Linked DNA regions of Homo sapiens: all the other regions are linked to region 7. The links are contacts of gene promoters, found by promoter capture Hi-C in blood cells and fetal thymus (Javierre and others, 2016). All regions are on one chromosome and are shown on one strand. Each heading gives the region's core, a stretch centred on a gene start or on the middle of the fragment in contact. The rest is flanking DNA. Distances are from core to core; before and after follow the strand shown.

Region 1 (2,764 bases), core at 15-2,514, 270 kb before region 7:
ATCAAGTAGGTAAACAACCAACCAAAGAATGAAATCATTTGAAATTTCAAGATTATCTACATTTTAAATCCATTGGCATATTTCTAACAAAATAATCCAGTTAATGCTTCTCAGGATTAAGGTTCATTTTGATCAAATTCTCATATGCTATTGTTTCATTACTTTCCTACTATCTAACAGACAGGAAGCTAAATACGATTCACCCAAATAAAAAAGATCACAGAAATTTAACATAGGTCAACACACAGGTCATGACATTTATGAACCACCACGTAAAAATGCCTGCCATATTTATTAGCAAAAAGTTGAATATTAAATCATAAAAATAATCAGTTATCTTTTAGCTACTCACAATATGATATGATTAAATAAAATATTGTCCAACACAAATTAAACTACTTATGTTCAAACATGGATAAAAATTCCAAAGAAAATATGTACTAAAATCAAGTCAATTATTCCATCCCTTGGTCATCTTGTGACATTACAGTAACCAAGAGCTAACATTGGCATGTCCTATGTACCTATCCCTACTACAATCTTTTGAAATACTATTAATTATCCCTAATTTTACAAATTAAGAAACTAAGGCTTAAACAGAAAATAATTTGTTCAAAGTCAGAGTGTCAAACCAGGATTAAACCCAGGTATATAGGATACAATAATCTGTGCATTTGACGACAACAGTACTATTTACTCATGACATGATGAAACATAAGAGTTTATCTTTTTTAAAGTCCTTGAAAATTTAGTATGCAGATACTAAAAGTACATCTGATCTGCCTTGAATATTGCTTAATATTATATAAGTTGCCAGGACAAGACATAGTAACATAACATGATGCCTGAATTACATGGAGAAAAATAATTAGATAAAACAAAGAGGGAGGAAAAAAAGCCTAAGATCACATCAACATTCAAATGAACGCCAAAGAAAATGACCAAGATAAAATGTATCACCAGGACTATAATCATACTAAGGAATGAAAGTAATTAATGGCTTCTAAAATTCTGTAAAATAGAATCACAGGTTTAGAAACAAAAGCAGCAATTCTCCTGGTTTACCTGTGAGGAAAGTTGGAGAAAATGTCTCTATTCTAAATCTTCTCATCTATCTCATTCTACTGTCTCTGGAAAGTCTTCTCTTTCTCATGATATTAAACATGTTTAGGCGAATAAATCAATGATTTGCCACATCTCTATTCCATATCTCAGACTCCCTCTTAAATATCTTTGACTGGATTCTCAATACTCCTTCAAGCTCAACAAACTTGATCTTTCTTATCTGCCTTTCCACTTTCTTTATAGATAATATCACCTCCCTGAGAAAAGAATCTAAGTATCAAGATTCACGTTAAGCATAATCATGAAGTCTACCATTGGTTCTACCCCTGGCTATTTACTCCCCTTTGTCCCACCCATCAAGTTGATCCTACACTCCGGTTCTTCCCAGGCCTGAGTTCCCCAGAAGTATACCAAGCCCTTCCTTTCTTCTACACTTCCAGCTCCCTCCCATAACAAACTAAAATTTATTTGTCATTTGATCCATTCCTTACAACTCTTATCTCTGCCTGCTTAATCTGATACATTAGCATTTGTCAGATAATTAATAATAATTATTAATGTAAGTATTTTATTTGCCAAATCCAATCTTTATTCTTTATTTCTGTGGTGATAGCTTCATCCATTATCACCTCTGTTAAGTATGACAACTGATGAGCCAAAGTAGTAAACGTAACAGATATGTCATTTGGTCTTCAATTACCCATCTGTATTTATACAAACATACCTCATATTACTGTGCTTTGCTTTAATGCACTTTACAGATACTGCATTTTTTACAAATTGCAGGTTTGTGACAACCCTTGTGGAACAAGTCTATCAGCACCATTTTTTCAATTGCACATGCTCACTTTGTATCTCTGTGTCACATTTTGGTAATTCTTACAATATTTCAAATTTTTTCATTATTATTATATCTGTTATGGTGATCTATAATCAGTGATCTTTGATGTTGCCATCTAATTGTTTTGGGGCACTATGATCTGCACTCATATAAGACAGCAAACTTTAATAATAAATGTATGTCCTCTGACTGCTCCACAACTCAACCTTCCCCTATCTCTCTGCCTCTCCTTGGGCTTCCTTATTCCCTGAAACATAACAACACTGAAATTAAGCCAATTAATAACCCTACAATGGGCTGGGCGTGGTGGCTCAAGCCTGTAATCCCAGCACTTTGGGAGGCCAAGGCGGGTGGATCACGAGGTCAGGAGATCGAGACCATCCTGGCTAACACGGTGAAACCCCGTCTCTACTAAAAATACAAAAAAAAAAAAAATTAGCCAGGCGTGGTGGCGGGCGCCTGCAGTCCCAGCTACTAGGGAGGCTGAGGCAGGAGAATGGCGTGAACCCAGGAGGCGGGGCTTGCAGTGAGCCGAGAATGCACCACTGCACTCCAGCCTGGGCGACACAGCGAGACTCCGTCTCAAAAAAAAAAAAAATTACCCAACAAAGGCTCTAAGTGTTCAAGTGAAAGAAAGAGTTCCACATCTCTCACTGTAAATCAAAAGGTACAAAAGGTAGAAATGATTAAGCTTAGGGAGGAAGGCACGTAGAAAGTCGAGATAGGCCAAAAGGAAGGCCTCTTGTGCCAAACAGCCAAGTTGTGAATGCAAATGAAAAGTCCTTGAAGGAAAACAAAAGTGCTACTCCAGTGAACACACAAATGATAAGAAAGCAAAATAGCCTGGCCAGGTGTGGT
Region 2 (2,748 bases), core at 25-2,524, 420 kb before region 7:
ACACACAAGGTACAGGCGAAGATAAGGGAAAAGTGGTGTAAGCTGCTGTAGAAAAACTAGCTTGGAAACATCAGGTTGATTTGGTTTCTCACAGGGTTTCTCTGGCTGCCTACCATTCTCCAAGGTAAGGAAAGAGAAGTGATGGCTCATGCCTGTAATCCCAGCACTTTGGGAGGCCGAGGCGGGAGGATCACCTGAAGTCAGGAGTTCAAGACCAGCCTGGCCAACATGGTGAAACCCTATGTCTACTAAAAATACAAAAAATTAGCCGGGCATGGTGGCAGGAGCCTGTAATCCCAGCTACTTGGGAGGCTGAGGCAGGAGAAATGCTTGAACCCGGGAGGCAGAGGTTGCAGTGAGCTGAAATTGCATCACTGCACCCCAGCCTGGGTGACAGAGCAAGACTCTGTCTCAATAAAAAAAAAAAAAAAAAAAAAGAAGTGATCCTGAATGACTGATGTCTATTGGCTCTATGCTCCCCTTTCATCAATATAGCCATCCACCCCTTTCCATAGCACAGCCGTTCTTCTAGGTTTTATATGTAATAGACACAGAAAATAAGCATTCATATTTGTTAAATGAATAAACTCCATTTATACATAAAGTTCCAGTTCAAGTTCCATTTCCTATGAATCTTTCATTACTTACTTACTCCAGTATTTACTGACTTCCCTTTCTTCTGGGATTCTCCAGGACTACAACACTGATACCCTACATTGTGTTTTATTGCTATTATCTATTTTATGCATTGGTCTTCTCTTCGACTTAATTGCAGTCTCCTTGAATAACAGTTTGTGGCTTTTCTGGATCCTGCTCAAAATAGTACTTTGCATGAGTGTTCACCAAATATTTGTTGATTAGAAAATGAAATAATTTTGACCATCTATACAAGATTTAATTATGTAAAAGATACTGTCAATAACATGGTTCGCTGTTGTTTAGAACTGGGATGTGATAATTACAATTAACCTCTGATATAGAAGAAAAGTTAAAGTCCTAATCAAGTCCCACTTAACCGTAGCAAAGTAGAAAGAGAAAAGGCTTTAGGGTCAGACCTGTATTGATACCTGGAGAAGGCACTTAATAGCTGCGTATCCTCAGATAATTTCCATAATAACCTTACTGCACATCAGTTTCCTAATCTGTAAAATTATAACATCATCTACTTCACAGGGTTATTATATTAATTATATGTGTGAAAGCATATTAAGTACCTAGAACAGGACATTGTAAATGCTCAATAAACACTTTTTCATTCCCTCCCCCACTCCCTGCCCACTAATTGGTATAGCAAAGTATTATGGCAACAACAAAAAAACAGAGTACTTTGGGACGCACTATAAGGCAATCTGATTATTATGAGCAGGTCTCCACCCTGCTCTTCCAAAGAGAATCTTATCTTCTCCCAAAGAGAACAAGTATTTGAGGAATATAACATTTTATTACAATTTTAACTGGTTGTTCTTTTTTTTTTTTTTTTTGAGATGGAGTCATGCTCTGTCACCAGGCTGGAGTGCAGTGGTACAATCTCAGCTCACTGCAACCTCTACTTCCCGGGTTCAAGTGATTCTCCTGCCTCAGCTTCCCAAGTAGCTGGGACTACAGGTGCGCACCACCACGCCCAGGTAATTTTTCTATTTTTAGTAGAGACGGGGTTTCACCATGTTGGCCAGGTTGGTCTCGAACTCCTGACTTCAAGTGATCCTCCTGCCTCGGCCTCCCAAAGTGCTGGGATTACAGGAGTGAGCCACAATACCTGGCATGCTGGTTGTTCCTTGATAGCTGAATACTCAATGAACATCTGTCACTTATCTATAATTTACTAAATATCGACTCTAAAACTTTTCTTAATCAGTAGTCTATCTCTAGTCTCTATGCCTAATGATTTCCCTGGAATATCTAGCTCCATGTTCTAAAGGGATGAGGAAGAAGACATCTCAAAAGAGTGAAAGTATGCTATACACACTGAGGGAGTTCCTCATTTTCAAGGCTGAAATCATGAATTGTTCAACTGAGAATTAAAAAAAATATCAACGTAGTGCTTTTCTTTAAGGTTTTGTTTTGCTGCTGCCAAACTCTTAGTTATTCATGCTGAAGTAAATCACATAGGCCTTACAGGTGGGCTCCTTTCCAAAGCAGCCCCCTCCACTGCCACCTCTGCTCACCTTGCCTCTCTGACACTGCCTTCTGGCTTTTCCTCTACCTGTCAGGCCATTGCAAGGGCTGCAGCTGCCAGCCTGCCTCCTATAAGCACCTTTTGCTTTCATCTGCCAACATTTTTCTGGAATGTTTCCTCCAATTTATGTAAGAGAAAGTAGGGAAGTACTTAAGCATATTGTTCACAAACAGATAACAAGAGGAGTCCTATGAGTAGAACTAGAACATTTTCTGACATGGTGTTGTGTCCATAAACTGCTTTTCACTCCTAGGAGGAGATGGGTACTAAATAGGAGGTTGGCCTGGTTAATGCTTCCAGTGTACTCTAGACCATACATCCATACTGACAGCATACAAACTAAATGTCATCGGAGCAAACAAATGCAAGCACAAATACAAACACTTCTTCTTATCAAAAGGCTATAAAATATAACATTTTGGAGCTAGCTTAGTGTCAACAATGCATGTCCCACATTCAGATATCCTAGTTACTCTGCAGCAGTTGGCCACGCTATTTGTGGCATACTGGGTCATACGGTTACAAATGAAAAACTAAGACAGCTAAAAAGTAACTTATTTCCCTCTGCCAAT
Region 3 (2,702 bases), core at 139-2,638, 260 kb before region 7:
AAATGACCAGATTTCACAAGAACTCACTGTCACGAAGATAGCACGAGGCCATGAGGGATTTGCCCCATGATCCAAACACCCCCCAACAGGCCCCACCTCCAGCACTGGGAATTACAATTCAACATGTGATTTGGGCGGAGATAAATATCCAAACTATATTAGGTGGAGACAGATTTAGCGTTTCTAACAAGCTCCCAGATGATGCTGATACTGTTGGTCTACTGACCATACTTTGAGTAGGAAAGGGCTAGAAAATCACTTCCTTTTCAGTACAATATCCACCTCTCTAGCCCAGAGTCTTATCAACACTCCCTTAATCAAAAGCAGCAGAGCAGTATGCTAGCTGGGGAAGAGGGAAAAAGTAACTCTTTTAAGAGCAGAGCATAATCCTTACAGTTGACAGACATGAATTCAAATTCCAGTTCTGCCACTATGTAGCTATATGCCATTGGGCATATCACTTAACCTCTCTATTTTAGGTTTCCTCATTTGTCAAATAGTGATAGTACTCTACTTCATAGAGATACTGTCATGATTAAAAATAAGTAATGTAGCAAAGCATTTAGCTTGCTACCTCCACTAGATGGTCTCTACGCCTTCATTTAACCTACATTTAACTTCCAGGACAATATCCCTCAAATCTGCATCCCTCACTTCAGTATACTCCTTCAGGGATCTCTTAATGACTACCAAATCAAAGGTAAATTCCTTAATTTGGCATTCAGCTCCTACTATAAATCATGCACCTACCTCCAAGACCCCCTCCACTCCTTCCTATTCAATACCACCTCTGGTCGTCACCCATATCTTCCCCATGCAGATCACCTCACCTCACTGCCACCATTCAATTTACTAATTCTGAAATGTGGGGACACAAGCATTTAGTGCTCTAGGGAACGTCTAAGCAATTACCCGGTTCAAACTCTTCATTTCACATACCAGAAAATAAAAATCCAAAAAGGCCTAAGCAACTTGTCCTTGACAAAAAAGTTATCATCAATTATAATGAAAACCTGGTTTCTGAGCTTGAACTCCAAAAGTTCTTTTCAGTTTGTTTTCCCATTCTCTGCAACAAACCTCAAGACCCACATAAAACTCACTTAAATAAAAGGCCCTCCCTCCACAATCTCTTAGAATTTAGGCATAAAGTTTATGCTGTGGTTTTTTTGACAGGATGCTAAAACATATGGCTGATTCAGCCAATACATCAGGAAGTAAAATCAATGAAACCAACTACTTGCCTTGGTATAGACTAAATCAATTGAATATTGTAGCACGTAGTATTTATTATTTTTGGAATCTGGTTTAATATAACCTAGATTGCTAGTTACCTTATTCTAGGTGATTATCTTCTCCTGCCATCTAGATTACATTTTTCTTAAAAATAGGAACTTTATCTTATTCACCCCCAATTGCCCTGTCCAAGTATCTTGTTCTCCTCTTCATGTACTGTGTAAATAACTGCTAATTTGCTGAATTAAAGATGCATTATTTTTCATAATGTTGAGTTTTACTTAACCTTTGCAGTCTTTCGTATCTAGTCCACTTTGTTATAGTATCATCCGTCCACTCTGTTTTATTCTGATGAATTTTCCTGATCAATAGCATAAAAACTTAGAAAGATAATTCTCAATGGCTATGTGTTTTATTTACTAATATATACCTTTGTATCACAAAAATATTTTACATCTGTGTACTTTATATCCCCAATTGCACAATATATACCTTGAGGATTAAAAATATGTCCTCTACTTTCTGTCATTTCCTCAACTATAATCCCTTCTCTTCCACCAAAATACTTGAAACTGTGCTATACACATAGCACAATGACTAAAATAATCATTGTTATTAAACTGCTAAAACATATATAAGCTAGCAATTTGGCATATTAAGACAACCCAAAAATTTTAAAAACAAAAGTGAAATGTTGATACATGTTATATATGCAAAAATATGTGCAAATTGCAAATTAATTGAATTTTTTAGAACAAAATACAAAAGATAATTTTAGGTGTCAAAAATATGATAGTGGGTTAAAAACACCCTAAATGCTAAGTTATTGAAAAATTTTTTTTCTAGTTTTAAACATTGTTTCATAGTTATCCTAAATGCTAAGTTATTGAAAAAAACCTTTTTTTCCAGTTTTAAACATTGTTTCATACTCTACTGATATGAGAGAAAAGTAAAACATCTATTTCGTGGCTTTTGTAAGAACTGATTAGTGCTACACCTAATTTTACACAAAAAAAGTCTTCCTCAAAAATTTGGTACATTAAATTTATGTTGTGCACACGGACAGGTTTATATCTAAGCCTGTTTTAGACACTTTCTAAGAGCTAATTATTTATAGGCATCCTGGAGACAATCTCTCTAAAGAAATCTGTTGGAAAAAATGATTTACATGCTTTATTAATCCAAATTTTTGTACATTGGATTTTTGTAAAGAAAAGTATACCAAAAAAAATTTTTAATATTATAAATTATGATAATAGTTCAGCCTTTTTCTTAATCCCTGAGATTTAAAAAATAGTTCCATTCCTAAAAAAAAATTTCTTCACACAAACCTGTGTCTCGCAATGCCCACAGCCTTTCAGTAACCTAGGTTATTCAGAAATTTTTAGTTAGAAAGACACCAGGACAATAAATGACTGTTCTATATTTTCAGCTTCATTTTAGCCTTCCTGTATTCACACCCTAGAGGT
Region 4 (2,850 bases), core at 162-2,661, 360 kb before region 7:
TTTATTTTAAAATATTTAAGAAAAATAATCTATTTTCTGCCATTGAAACTCTCACAACCCTATGTTCTTAACTTTTCCAGAAATTCTACAACAGTAGGCTGGATAATAAATATTCCCTAAGGTGAAAGGCCACACAGATTAAAGTTATTTTACTCTCTTTTCTAATTCAATACAACACAATTGTTTTAGCTCTGAGGGTATTCTGGTATTTGGAGCATTTGTCAAATAATGAAATGAATCATAAATTAGTCAGATTATAATTGTTATAATTCTCAGTTATTATTAGTTTGTCTTCAGTTTACTCTGTACTCAAAAGAGGGGGAAGGGATGGCCAAAAATTCTTTTGCAATAGTAGTTGATATAATTGAACACCAACATTACCTTTATCACTTCCATAATAATAGAATACCGTTTTACTGAGAGCACACCACCGTTTCTGCCATTCAAATCCCAGAAAGCTGTGATCTGCAATAAAGAGGGGAAAATGTAAGGCCATTTCCTTACTGTAAAAGAAAAAGTTAATTAATATGATTTCTAAGATTCCTCTGAGCTCTAACATTGTGTGACTAATTTGTATCTTCTTTTCCAAGAGACAAAAAACCAAACAACAACAAACCAACACAGCTAAAGGGAATAAAGTAAAGTAGCTATGGGGCTGCCATACTTATGGGATCAACAGCATGGCTAACAAAGTTTTCTGACAGGGACAGTCAAAAAGGTATCTGACTATACAGTCTTGAGATAATTGATCCATCTGGGTCTCATTTTCTCATCTGTTATAAAAAGAAGGGGAGGAGCTAACCTAGATTATTTCTGTTATCTCTTTCAGTTTTAAAATTCAGCTAAGAAAGCTAAGAAAAGCAAAATGAAATATAAATAGAAAGGCCTAAAGGGACTACAAGAGAGATAAGCAGAATGGTAATGAAAAGACTGTCTGCTTTTCATTTCTCATATTATAAAACCACCTCCATATTTCATTTCCATTAAATATTGGTGTTGAAAGAGTGAGACCATATGGTCAACTCCCAATTATCATAGCCAATGGAGAGGAACACTGAAATGAATAATAGACAATGGCAGACAAAACTCCAGGCTTGATCTGAACCATGGTGCATGCCAGTTTGGGCATAGGAGAACCTGCTGCTCAGCCCATTGAGATACTGGTGAGAAATCCCACCTTTGAGAATACAGTCATGGCCTGCAGCTTTCCTTTGAGAGGCAGGAAACAGCTCCTGAATCATTTACAAATAACCAAGGTTGACAACTAAAAACCTAACCTAATGTTTTCTTATTAAAAATTATTTAAAGCTAAGAGCTATATTTTGTGGTTTGGATAATGTCATCCAGATTTTCTTACAATCTTTAAACTCTTTAATCACCTAAAACGAATACTGCCTCCACATGTATACTACAAACATGTTCTATCTAAGGATGAAATTATTTTTACATTTTTCATTAGAACCTTCAGTTTACCTTTTCTGCGTTTTTCAAGGTAGCCAGCCTTTAGAACAAAAGGAAGGTCTTGTGCTGCAATTGGAGGAAACTGGGCTCCTATGAGAAGTTGGGGAGAGAAAAAAAAAAGCAGTGGGTAATCCATTTCAGAATAAACAAGTGCCAGATCTCATTAGATTCAGTGTGCTTTTAATTACTGAAATTGTTTAAATCTAAGTCTATTAGCTTTGTTTCAGATCCATTCCCTAGATTAATCCCCTCTATTCCTCCTAAAAGTCTCAAAAGTAAAAAAAAAAAAAAAAAAAAAAAAGTTCTGTACTCCTATATGTTATTATAGCCTCCCAAAATACAGGACTGAGAAACTATTATAAATAAATGCAATAAATCCCTGAAAGAGAGGTTAAGAATTTCAAATAAATCATAGCTTCGTTATATTTATATTGAATTAACTCTTTAAAAATTTCAATACATATTGACTCTTTCCTGCATAATCCCTATTCCTACCAAGTAAAACATAAAATGCTTTTCCGAATCAAATGCTGAAACTTGTTTCTCTGAGCCCACAGCAAATATTCTCTGTGTTTGTATTCAGAGAAATGTTATGGACATTCCACTGAGTGAGTATGCTTTAGGTTTTTATAGGGCATTTAAGAGTCTAAAACTAGACAGATCTGATAAAACTATTATAAACAAATACTGGATCCCTAAAAAAAGTTTTTAAATCAAGCAAAAGTTAAGTTGATTAGAAATTGTATATTCACGGTCATGGATTATAGGTTACTCAATTTTACAAGTGTTCAATATTTTTATAAACTTCATTAGAAATATAATAGTTATCTGCCGGGCGCAGTGGCTCACGCTTGTAATCCCAGCACTTTTGGAGGCCGAGGCGGGTGGATCACTTGAGGACAGGAGTTCGAGACCAGCCTGGCCAACACAGTGAAACCTGGTCTCTACTAAAACTACAAAAGAAATTAGCCAGGCATGGTGGCGGGTGCCTGTAATCCCAGCTACTTGGGAGCTGACGCAGGAGAATCACTCGAACCCAGGAGGCAGAGGTTGCAGTGAGCCAAGATCACGCCATTGCAATCCAGCCTGGGAAAAAAAAGAGAAAAAAACGAAAACAGAAAAGAAAAGAAATATAATAGTTATCCTCAGCATTTTACTAGAACTCTAGCAAGTGAAAACAACCAATCAAAAGAAAGTTTGTATGGAATACATCCAGTGGAAATAGTTTCAGTACAACTTAGGATAGAAAATGTGTTTGAGTACAAACATGTAATTAGAATGAATAAGATCTAGTATTTGATAGCACAACAGAGTGACTATAGTCAACAATAATTTATTGTACATTTAAAAATAACTAAGTGGCCGGGTGCAATGGCTCATGCCTACAAT
Region 5 (2,939 bases), core at 106-2,605, 370 kb before region 7:
AAAGAATACTATGAACAAATATTCAGCAAAGACACATTTATATTCAGCAAAGATAAAAATAATAAATATTATATGTGTGTAGTGACCCTATTTTATGAATGATTTCATTTTTTTTTATAACTTCGGATAACCCTCTAAGCAGATTTTAGAGCTGAAACCATCTGTATTAGTCTGTTCTGACTCTGCTAATAAAGACATACCCAAGACTGGCAAATTTATAAAGGAAAGAGGTTTAATTGACTCACAGTTTAGCATGGTTAGGGAGGCCTGAGGAAACTTACAATCATGGCGGAAGGGGAAGCAAACATGTCCTTCTTCACATGGCAGCATCGAGAAGAATGAGTGCCCAGCAAAGGGGTGAGCCCCTTATAAAACCATCAGATCTCATGAGAACTCACTCACTATCACGAGAACTGGATAGGGGACACTGCCCCCATCATTCAATTATCTCCACCTGGTCCCTCCCAGGACACATGGGGATTTTATGGGTACTACAATTCAAGATGAAATTTGGGTGGGGACACAGCCAAACCATATCACCATCCAAAAATTCAACCCTAATCTAGTTATCTACTTGGGAAAAACTATTCCCACAATATCACCACATTGATAACTTCACCATTCAGTACCTAGTTTAAGAAAAAATAATGTTAGCAGGCTGCCTAGACTAACAATATTAAAATACTGAATATATGTGGTTCTATGAAAATTAATTGACATCTTTCCATTGCATTCCAAAGAAGAAAGGAGAAAAATTGTTTGGTGAAGTCAGGATCTACTATCACTTAAAACAATGTTAATACCACAGACTGCAGGGTCCCCTGTAACCCTGATATTAACTTAGTAATATGAGTGATAATTATTCAGGAGGAAAATAAAGCCAAAATGTATTTTGGGGGCCTATAACCACTTATTGACTAAATTAGCATTTGTGTCCATTTGCTGTAAACTACTTCAAATTAAAGTACCCAAACACTGTTCTTTTTTATGTATATATAATAGTCTCATGGAAAAAAATTATAGCTGCATTTTACTTTATGTTCTATTTTAGATGCAGATAGTTGGACTGAATACATTTAAAATGTAATTGAATGGCCAAAGGATAAAAATATCCTTTTCTGACTCAGAATAGTTCAATCTGTCATTGTAATTTAAAAAAAAATGAATTCACACTTAAAAAAAATAGGTTAATGGAATAGAAATTTGTCTTCCTGTTTTATGTTGCCCTCTCTCCTCCAGTCCACTTGCCAGAAGACATTTCAAGTGCAATCCCTCTGAAAGCTACAGATTTAATAAGTTAATGGATGGTTACCATTCTCATTACTAGGCTGATTCTATTCAGTTTAGATCTAGAAAAATCTTTTTGTTGTTGTTGTTTCTGTACAATTTCCTGCCATTAAAGAAAAAAAATCAAGTGACATAGTGAATAGAAGAGAAGAGCAAACAGGGTTGGTTTCTGCAGCAATTTCACGAGTATTATTTTCCCCTTTTGAGATTCAAAATGAGACAAAGACACTCCTCTGTATTTCTAATGAAAAAGTGAGCAATAAATTTACAAACCTGTGCTGAGCCAAATGAACTCATTACCATGTTAAACAGTTTAACACATTTTGATCAATATATTAGCTGCACAAACACAAATATGCTATAGTATTATTACAATGTAAACAAACCTGACTGGCCTATGCTAATAAGCAATAAGACATAAAAGATGTAAAAGGATTAGGATATTTGAAGAAAAGCCAAATACCTTTAATACTCCCCAGAAATGGCATTCTCGCAACTCTTTTGTACATATGTATAAATCCCTTAAACACAAAGAAGTCTTACAAATTTATTCCTATTCCTTTACGAAGTTAGTTAAAAATAAATGAACAAGAAATTAAACAGAAGGTACTGTAATGAAGTTAGAATATTCTAACTGAAAAACAATTACAATGAAACAATTTAGATTCCTGTAGAATTATAAACATTTTTCAAGGGATATTATGCAATGCAATTTTTTTTTTTTTTTTTTTTTTTTGAGACACAGTCTCACTCTGTTGCCCAGGCTGGAGTGTAGTGCCTCAATCTTGGCTCACTGCAGCCTCCGCCTCCCGGATTCAAGTGATTCTCCTGCCTCAGCCTCCTGAATAGCTTGGATTACAGGCACCTGCCACCATGCCCGGCTAATTTTTTATTTATTTTTATTTTTTTATTTTTAGTAGAGACGGGGTTTCACCATGTTGGCCAGGCTCGCTTCGAACTCCTGACCTCAAGTGATCCACCTAACTCGGCCTCCCAAAGTGCTAGGATTACAGGCGTGAGCCACTGCGCCCAGCCCATTGCAATTTTTAAAACCACGTTTTCTTCTTACTCTTGAAACTCAAAACACTGCAGGTTTATTTCATAGTTTTTAAAAAATACACTTATTAGAGTAAGAGCTTTCGTTTCTCAGAAAAAGAGCTTTGTGATTTAAAGTAGCATAATAAATGCTTAGATTTCTCTTCAAATACATTTGTATACCTCATCTTTCAACTAAGAGGATTAGTTTTCAACAATGCATAATTGACAGAAAATTGTGTTGAAATTGTAGTATTATTTAATTCTGGGAATTTAGCCAGTCAGATATCAGAGATACATAGTTCTTTGCACAGAACTGGAAAAATATCAACAGTATGTAAATGTGCTTACTGCTCTTCCATTGTTCTAACTCCTCTATCAAAATTATATTCAAATTTCACAGAAGTGAAAGCAATAAGCTTAATTCTTGTCCTGAAAGAGAGACAATTGTTTTAATTAAAAAAGTTACCTTCCTAGTTTCAGACATTTAATCAAACAAAACCTCTAACTCTGAGACACCTTTAGGGCCTTTACTAGAAAAATCCCCTCTGTAGCCGTTGGCACAAACTTGACAAACTTGCTGAACCGTGCAGATGTTGAAGCAGCTCTCAGTTACA
Region 6 (2,801 bases), core at 114-2,613, 400 kb before region 7:
TTGTCCCCATACATTTCTTATCCCAAAAGTATATATGCATTTCATTGTAAACTGTTTTGAATCCTTTTTTAGAAAGTAAAATACATCAACTCAATTTAGATTTTTTTGGCTTGCTTTAAATTTTATTAGATTAAAAAATACTATCTAGTGACAAATAGGCTGATGTTATGATTATTTGATTGTAATGTGGCTGTCTTATCAGGGTCTACAACTGCCTACTATAACCTCTGGAAAAACAGCTGATATATGGATGCAGAGCTCATTTGTTATAGGCTTTTGCTCTGTTTCCTCTGCTTGCCTATGCAAATATACCCTTTCTCATCATATGCAGTGCATCTTAACCTCATTTTCAAGAGCCCAAGAAAGAAAAAGCACAGTTTCATAGAAAGAACCATCACCATTAGACTTACTGGCTCCACATCCCTTATACCAGCAGTGCTTTCCAAGATCTGTTTGCAGGGTGGAGGGTCTGTGGGGTCAAAGCTATTTTCATAATAATACTAAGACATTATGTGTCTTTTTCACTATGTTAACATTTGCACTGATGTTGCAGAGCAATGATGGGTAAAACTGCTGACACCTTAGCATAAATCAACTTAGACTGCCCTGCACTGGCATAAAAGTAAAAAAATGAAAGAAGTCAGTTGCACTAAAGAATGTCCTTGATGAAGCAGTAATAATTATTTTCACCTAATATCAACCTTGAGTACGTAACTTTAATATTCTATGTGACAAAATCAGAAGAATGTATAAAGCATTTCTGCTACACCACCAGATGCGTAAGAATCTGAGTGTTGAGCTGAATTAGCCATTTTTTTATTCATGGAACACCATTTTTACTTGAATGACTGACAAACTGGTTATTTAGACTTGGGAATCTGGCAGACATTTTCTCAAAAGTAAATGAAATAAGCTTGTCATTTCAAGGGAAACAACTGACGGTATTTATTGCCAATGATAAAATTTGAGCTTTCAAGCAAAAATTAGGATTTTAGAAACTTGTATCTGCCACTGTTAGCTTGACAGCTCCCCACTATTTAAAGACTTTTCCAATGAGATGGATGGTGATATAAACAAAATGTGGGTTTTTCTTAGGTTGTGTCATAGTTGTGTCAATATTTGTAGGTTCTGCATAATGTAATGAACTAGTATTTTCCAACTGACCAAAGCATGTTACAAAATCAAGCATGGGTAAAAGATCCATTCAACAAAGTGCAAGACAGGCCTATGAATTTTAATGTAAAAGAGTATGAAAAGTTCATTGGTATGGTTTCAGATTCCACATTGTACCAGCTTTTAACTACTACTTGTCGCGTCTGGGTACAATATCAAAAAAGAATACCTACAATTACCTGCAAGTAAAGTACCTCCCTTTTCCTTCCTACATATCTGTATGAGGTGGATTTTCTTTATAAGTTAACTGTACTTAAACAATATATCACAATAAACTGAATGTAGAAGCAGATATGAAACTCTATTGTCTTCTACCAAGACAGACATTCAAGAAAGCTGTAAAAATGTAAACAATGCCATATTCTTCTAATTTTAGGGGGAAATATAGTTATTTTTCCTAAAAATAGGTTATGTACAGATGTAACAGGTTTATCATCATGACTTTTAAATTCATTAATAAATCAACATTCTTTAAAGATCTGTTTTAATTTCCAATAGGGTAAATATTGAGATTTAACTATTTACCAACCTATTTATCATTAGATAGTATTTTTTAATCTAATAAAATTTAAAACAAACCAAAAAAATCTACATTGAGATGAAATACTTTACTTTCTAGAAAAAAATTCAAAACATAAACAAAAGCTTTTAAGGGTCCTTGATAATTTTTAAGATTGTAAAGGGATCCTGAGATCAATAAGTTTAAGAATGGCTACCCTGTACTTTCTAGGGTAGTTTTAGTTAAATATCTAAACATTGTTCATCCACCACATGAAAAAAAATGATATCCTGCTAACCTAGAACACTATTTGATAATTATTTTATGTTCCCAAAGCACACAATCTCAGGATTGAATCACATTAAACTGTTGACTCATATTGAGCTATTGACCAAAGTCCGTATGTGTTTTTCCCATTTTCTGTGAAGCCAAGTCTTTCCTTTCTTGTACTTGTGCAACTAGATTTTTGGAGCAAGTGGAATATTCTATCATATTTCATCTTGTTGGATTTGACCCATGATTTTGTTCTATTGAGAGCAAGCCTGTATCCAAAACAATGATGAATAGGTTGGATATGATAATATTGAAAATAAAGCCCTAAGGTATTCATAAAATCAATTAATTAGCACTCTTTGGACACAGCTGTAGAGTCAGTTATCTGGTGGTCTCTATATCTATAAAGATTTCATGAGAATCCTGACCACATGTCTTACTGAAGTCCAGTTATATGTCCACCAATTCCTGGAACTCATACTGGGTTCCAGTAATTAGTGTTTCATCTTCTAGTTAACATAAAAGACTCTCTTTGATACTCTATGTTAGCAGTTTCTGGAGTCCTCTTTATAGCCCATTAACTATCTAGAATTTTCAGAATTCATCTGAAAAGGGATACCAGATACGCTTTTCAGAACCAACACAGCCATCCCCAACTGCTGGGACTCAAGCTGCAGTTGGTTCATAACTGCGTCTCTCACTAGAAATTGCCCTCAACTGCAGGGAATTGCTTCACTCAAGGTTATAGGGCCTCCCAGAGAATGGCTTGGAGCCAATGAATAGCTAATGCAGGAATACAAAGACAAGCCCCTATGCCTCAATTTGGCACAATCCTGAAGAGTCCGCCTAGCCTAGT
Region 7 (2,797 bases), core at 70-2,569:
CGCGTCAGGTACTTGTTGAAGTGGAACTCCTTCTCCAGTTCCGTGAGCTGCTTGGTAGTGAAGTTGGTGCGCACCGCGTTGGGTTGACCCAGGTAGCCGTACTCTCCAACTTTCCCTGGGGCAAAGTGGGAAGCCATGAGACGGAAATGTAAAAATTTTTAAATCGACTTGAGATTCCCCACACGCTTCATGGCAACACTCAGGTAAAGAAAAGATCAAGAACTCAGCACAAATCGGGCTGTGGAGGGTGAGTGATGAGGTGTAAAGTGTTAACCTGATGTAAACCATTAGCATGGTCAGACCGGTGATTAATGGAGCCTCAAGATATTAACAGAACACTACCGTCACAATAACCACCCCCACATACTTCCTATTTCCCAAATGTATAAAATCCTTGAAAACACACCAATCCCTGAGACTTCTTTGCCCCAACACCTCTGGGCACCCTCTCCATGCACTACAACACTAGTCTGATACAAAAGCCTTTTAAAAAAAAGATCATTATTAATTTCCTTGGAAATTAAGCATACCAGCTCCTTCCAGAATAATCAAGGAGCATCCACCAACCAGCAGGACTGACCTGTTTTGGGAGGGTTTCTTTTGACTTTCATCCAGTCAAAAGTCTGCGCTGGAGAAGATGTCTCCGATGCGGGGGAGCGACAGGCTTCTTGGTGGCTGGCGTGGAGAGGGGACAAGGAGTTATTATACGTAGCCAGGGCCAGGCTCTGGTGCTCCTGTCCATATGAGTGGTGAATGTATTGAGGCGAGCCCACCGCGCCCCCAGCATAACCCTGGTGGTGGTGGTGATGCTGGACCATGGGAGATGAGAGATTTCCAGAGTAAACAGCGGGAGCGCACTGGGGGTACCCACCACTTACGTCTGCTTCCTGATTTAACGCGTAGGGGCTGTAAGGCGCACTGAAGTTCTGTGAGCCATAGCTTGGACCACAACTTGAGTGGGAGTAGGACACCCCCAGGTTCCCGGAAGTCTGGTAGGTAGCCGGCTGGGGGTGGCGATGGTGGTGGTGGTGGTGGTGGTGGGGCGAACCGATCTGCACCCCCCTGCCCACTAGGAAGCGGTCGTCGCCGCCGCAACTGTTGGCGCTGACCGCGCACGACTGGAAAGTTGTAATCCTATGGTCCGAGGGGTAGGCTCGGGCTGAGCAGGTCCCCGAGTCGCCACTGCTAAGTATGGGGTATTCCAGGAAGGAGTTCATTCTTGCATTGTCCATCTGTCACTGAGTGACCTGGTCCTGCGAAGCCCGGCGTGACTGTGCCAACTTTCTCACTTCCTCCATGGGGCCGGAGAAGAAAAATGATATGAATGTACAGTGCGCAAGAGGGGGGGCGGGAGGGCGGAGGACGCTGGAGGAGGGGCACGTGACGGTGTCAGCCAATGGCTGAGCCTCCTGCAAAAGTTTGCCGGCTTCCGCAGTGATGGATCACCGTTTTAGTGGCATTTAAATCCCCGGCGCTCCGCCGTCTAGGTGACGCGCAGTCGCCCCCCCAGGCAGCCTAGGCGGCGGCAGCTGCTGCGGCGACTGCAAAGGCCGATTTGGAGTGCTGGAGCGAAGAAGAGCAAAAGCTGCGTTCTGCGCGCGCCCGACTCCGCTGCCCGCCCCGCCAGGCCTCCGGGAGGTGGGGGCTGGGAGGCGTCCCCCGCTCCCGCCCCCTCCCCACCGTTCAATGAAAGATGAACTGGCGAGAGGTGAGAAGGGAAGAGGGCTCCCGGCTCTCTCGGGGCGGGAATCAGTGGGCCAGAGCTCGCCGGGTGGCCGCAAGTACGCCGGCCCAGCCCGCAGCGCGCCCAGCCGGAAGGCGGGGAATCCGGCTGACACCGCGCCCCGGGTTCCCAGGCCACCTCCTCTGTTCTGAGGCTGGGCTGGGAGACCGTGGGGCTGTGAGGAGCGCATAGAACCGTGGTGGAGGGCGAGGCTGGGCCACCGGCTCTTCAAGCTCGGAATGGAGGGGGAAGAGCGCAGAGGGCTGGCTGGGAGGAACTCGGGTGGGCGTGAAGGAGACGAGGGCAAGAAAAGAAACTTCCCTTCTTCCAGGAGGGTCTTCGAAACCCTCTCCCCACAGCCCCTCTCGTCATTAGCATGGCAATGAGGAGTTTCTGTAATTCGACTTGGAGGGGCGGATGAGCCCTGGAAACTCAGAGCTCGCCGGAAAAGGCCGGGGGCGGCCGGGCTCTTCTTCCCCACCTTCCCTCTCTCGTCGCTCTCCGCCCCTTTCTCTTTCCCACTCAGTTTTGCACCGGGAGCCCTCCGGGATGCGGAGCTACTCGACCGCCGGATTTTTAGGGGTAGGAGGCGGGGGAGAGAGATGACGCTGGCGGACGTGGCCAGCGCGGGGGCCGGGCGGTGCGCTGCAGGCCATCTGCCGGCGCCCTGAGACCCAGGAGCCTCCGCGCTCCCGCGTGGGCCTCACAGGGCCGGTCCACAGCTCCAACATAGTAGCTGAACTCCCTTCGTTGCGTTCCTCTTTTTCTGGAGGGGAATGTTAGAAGAGAGAGAGAGCTTCCTTTTATAACCTTCCTCATTCTGCTGCACGTCTAGAGTGGGTGTGGGGGCTGGCAGGTGGGAGGGGCGGTGGACAAATGGCTGATGGTGGACGGGACACTTTACCCCAACGACACCTCCTCCCCTTTCCAACTGGCTGTGTAGTTGCTTATGAGAACCTTCAAGTCCTTCCCTAGAGAGACACATGCAAATCTGAGCCTCATCCCAGGCCAGGGGTCCTGTTCCTCATCACCCTACTTCCCTGAGGCTGCTGAGGTCGTTAAATTGTTGTTTAC

The links. The method cuts DNA at HindIII sites, captures the fragments that hold promoters and counts their contacts. A CHiCAGO score of 5 or more calls a contact.
Region 1: a contact is called between a fragment that was not itself captured here and the fragment with the promoter of HOXA1 in region 7, in 1 of 17 cell types (neutrophils). The highest score is 5.6, in neutrophils.
Region 2: a fragment that was not itself captured here is called in contact with the fragment with the promoter of HOXA1 in region 7 in 8 of 17 cell types (endothelial precursors, M2 macrophages, neutrophils and 5 more); the score reaches 10.0 in endothelial precursors.
Region 3: a contact is called between a fragment that was not itself captured here and the fragment with the promoter of HOXA1 in region 7, in 1 of 17 cell types (neutrophils). The highest score is 6.1, in neutrophils.
Region 4: a fragment that was not itself captured here is called in contact with the fragment with the promoter of HOXA1 in region 7 in 1 of 17 cell types (neutrophils); the score reaches 5.4 in neutrophils.
Region 5: a contact is called between a fragment that was not itself captured here and the fragment with the promoter of HOXA1 in region 7, in 1 of 17 cell types (neutrophils). The highest score is 6.9, in neutrophils.
Region 6: a fragment that was not itself captured here is called in contact with the fragment with the promoter of HOXA1 in region 7 in 2 of 17 cell types (endothelial precursors and megakaryocytes); the score reaches 10.5 in endothelial precursors.

What each region holds. Positions count from the first base shown.
Region 1 is chr7:26,820,393-26,823,156 of GRCh38, forward strand. All of the region lies in intron 4 of SKAP2 (src kinase associated phosphoprotein 2), which reads right to left. The region is part of intron 2 of LOC124901606 (a long non-coding RNA gene); the gene reads left to right. Among named protein-coding and RNA genes, the nearest start is that of SKAP2, 43 kb to the right of the region's middle. The HindIII fragment of the contact is 2,662 bases long and covers 1-2,595 here.
Region 2 is chr7:26,676,979-26,679,726 of GRCh38, forward strand. The region is part of intron 11 of SKAP2 (src kinase associated phosphoprotein 2); the gene reads right to left. Among named protein-coding and RNA genes, the nearest start is that of LINC02860, 40 kb to the left of the region's middle. The HindIII fragment of the contact is 4,779 bases long and covers 1-2,748 here.
Region 3 is chr7:26,837,532-26,840,233 of GRCh38, forward strand. All of the region lies in intron 4 of SKAP2 (src kinase associated phosphoprotein 2), which reads right to left. All of the region lies in intron 2 of LOC124901606 (a long non-coding RNA gene), which reads left to right. Among named protein-coding and RNA genes, the nearest start is that of SKAP2, 26 kb to the right of the region's middle. The HindIII fragment of the contact is 2,972 bases long and covers 1-2,702 here.
Region 4 is chr7:26,738,414-26,741,263 of GRCh38, forward strand. SKAP2 (src kinase associated phosphoprotein 2) reads right to left here. Exons shown (of 13, transcript NM_003930.5): 5 at 1,474-1,551; 6 at 382-465. Among named protein-coding and RNA genes, the nearest start is that of LINC02860, 100 kb to the left of the region's middle. The HindIII fragment of the contact is 4,131 bases long and covers 1-2,850 here.
Region 5 is chr7:26,720,387-26,723,325 of GRCh38, forward strand. All of the region lies in intron 9 of SKAP2 (src kinase associated phosphoprotein 2), which reads right to left. Among named protein-coding and RNA genes, the nearest start is that of LINC02860, 84 kb to the left of the region's middle. The HindIII fragment of the contact is 2,767 bases long and covers 1-2,739 here.
Region 6 is chr7:26,697,872-26,700,672 of GRCh38, forward strand. All of the region lies in intron 9 of SKAP2 (src kinase associated phosphoprotein 2), which reads right to left. Among named protein-coding and RNA genes, the nearest start is that of LINC02860, 61 kb to the left of the region's middle. The HindIII fragment of the contact is 905 bases long and covers 912-1,816 here.
Region 7 is chr7:27,094,681-27,097,477 of GRCh38, forward strand. HOXA1 (homeobox A1) reads right to left here and starts at 1,320. Exons shown (of 2, transcript NM_005522.5): 1 at 581-1,320; 2 at 1-115. The coding sequence starts at 1,232. HOTAIRM1 (HOXA transcript antisense RNA, myeloid-specific 1) reads left to right here and starts at 1,414. Exons shown (of 2, transcript NR_038367.1): 1 at 1,414-1,708. RefSeq lists enhancers at 1-408, 1,290-1,584, 1,710-2,282 and a silencer at 1,637-1,806. The HindIII fragment of the contact is 6,567 bases long and covers 1-2,797 here.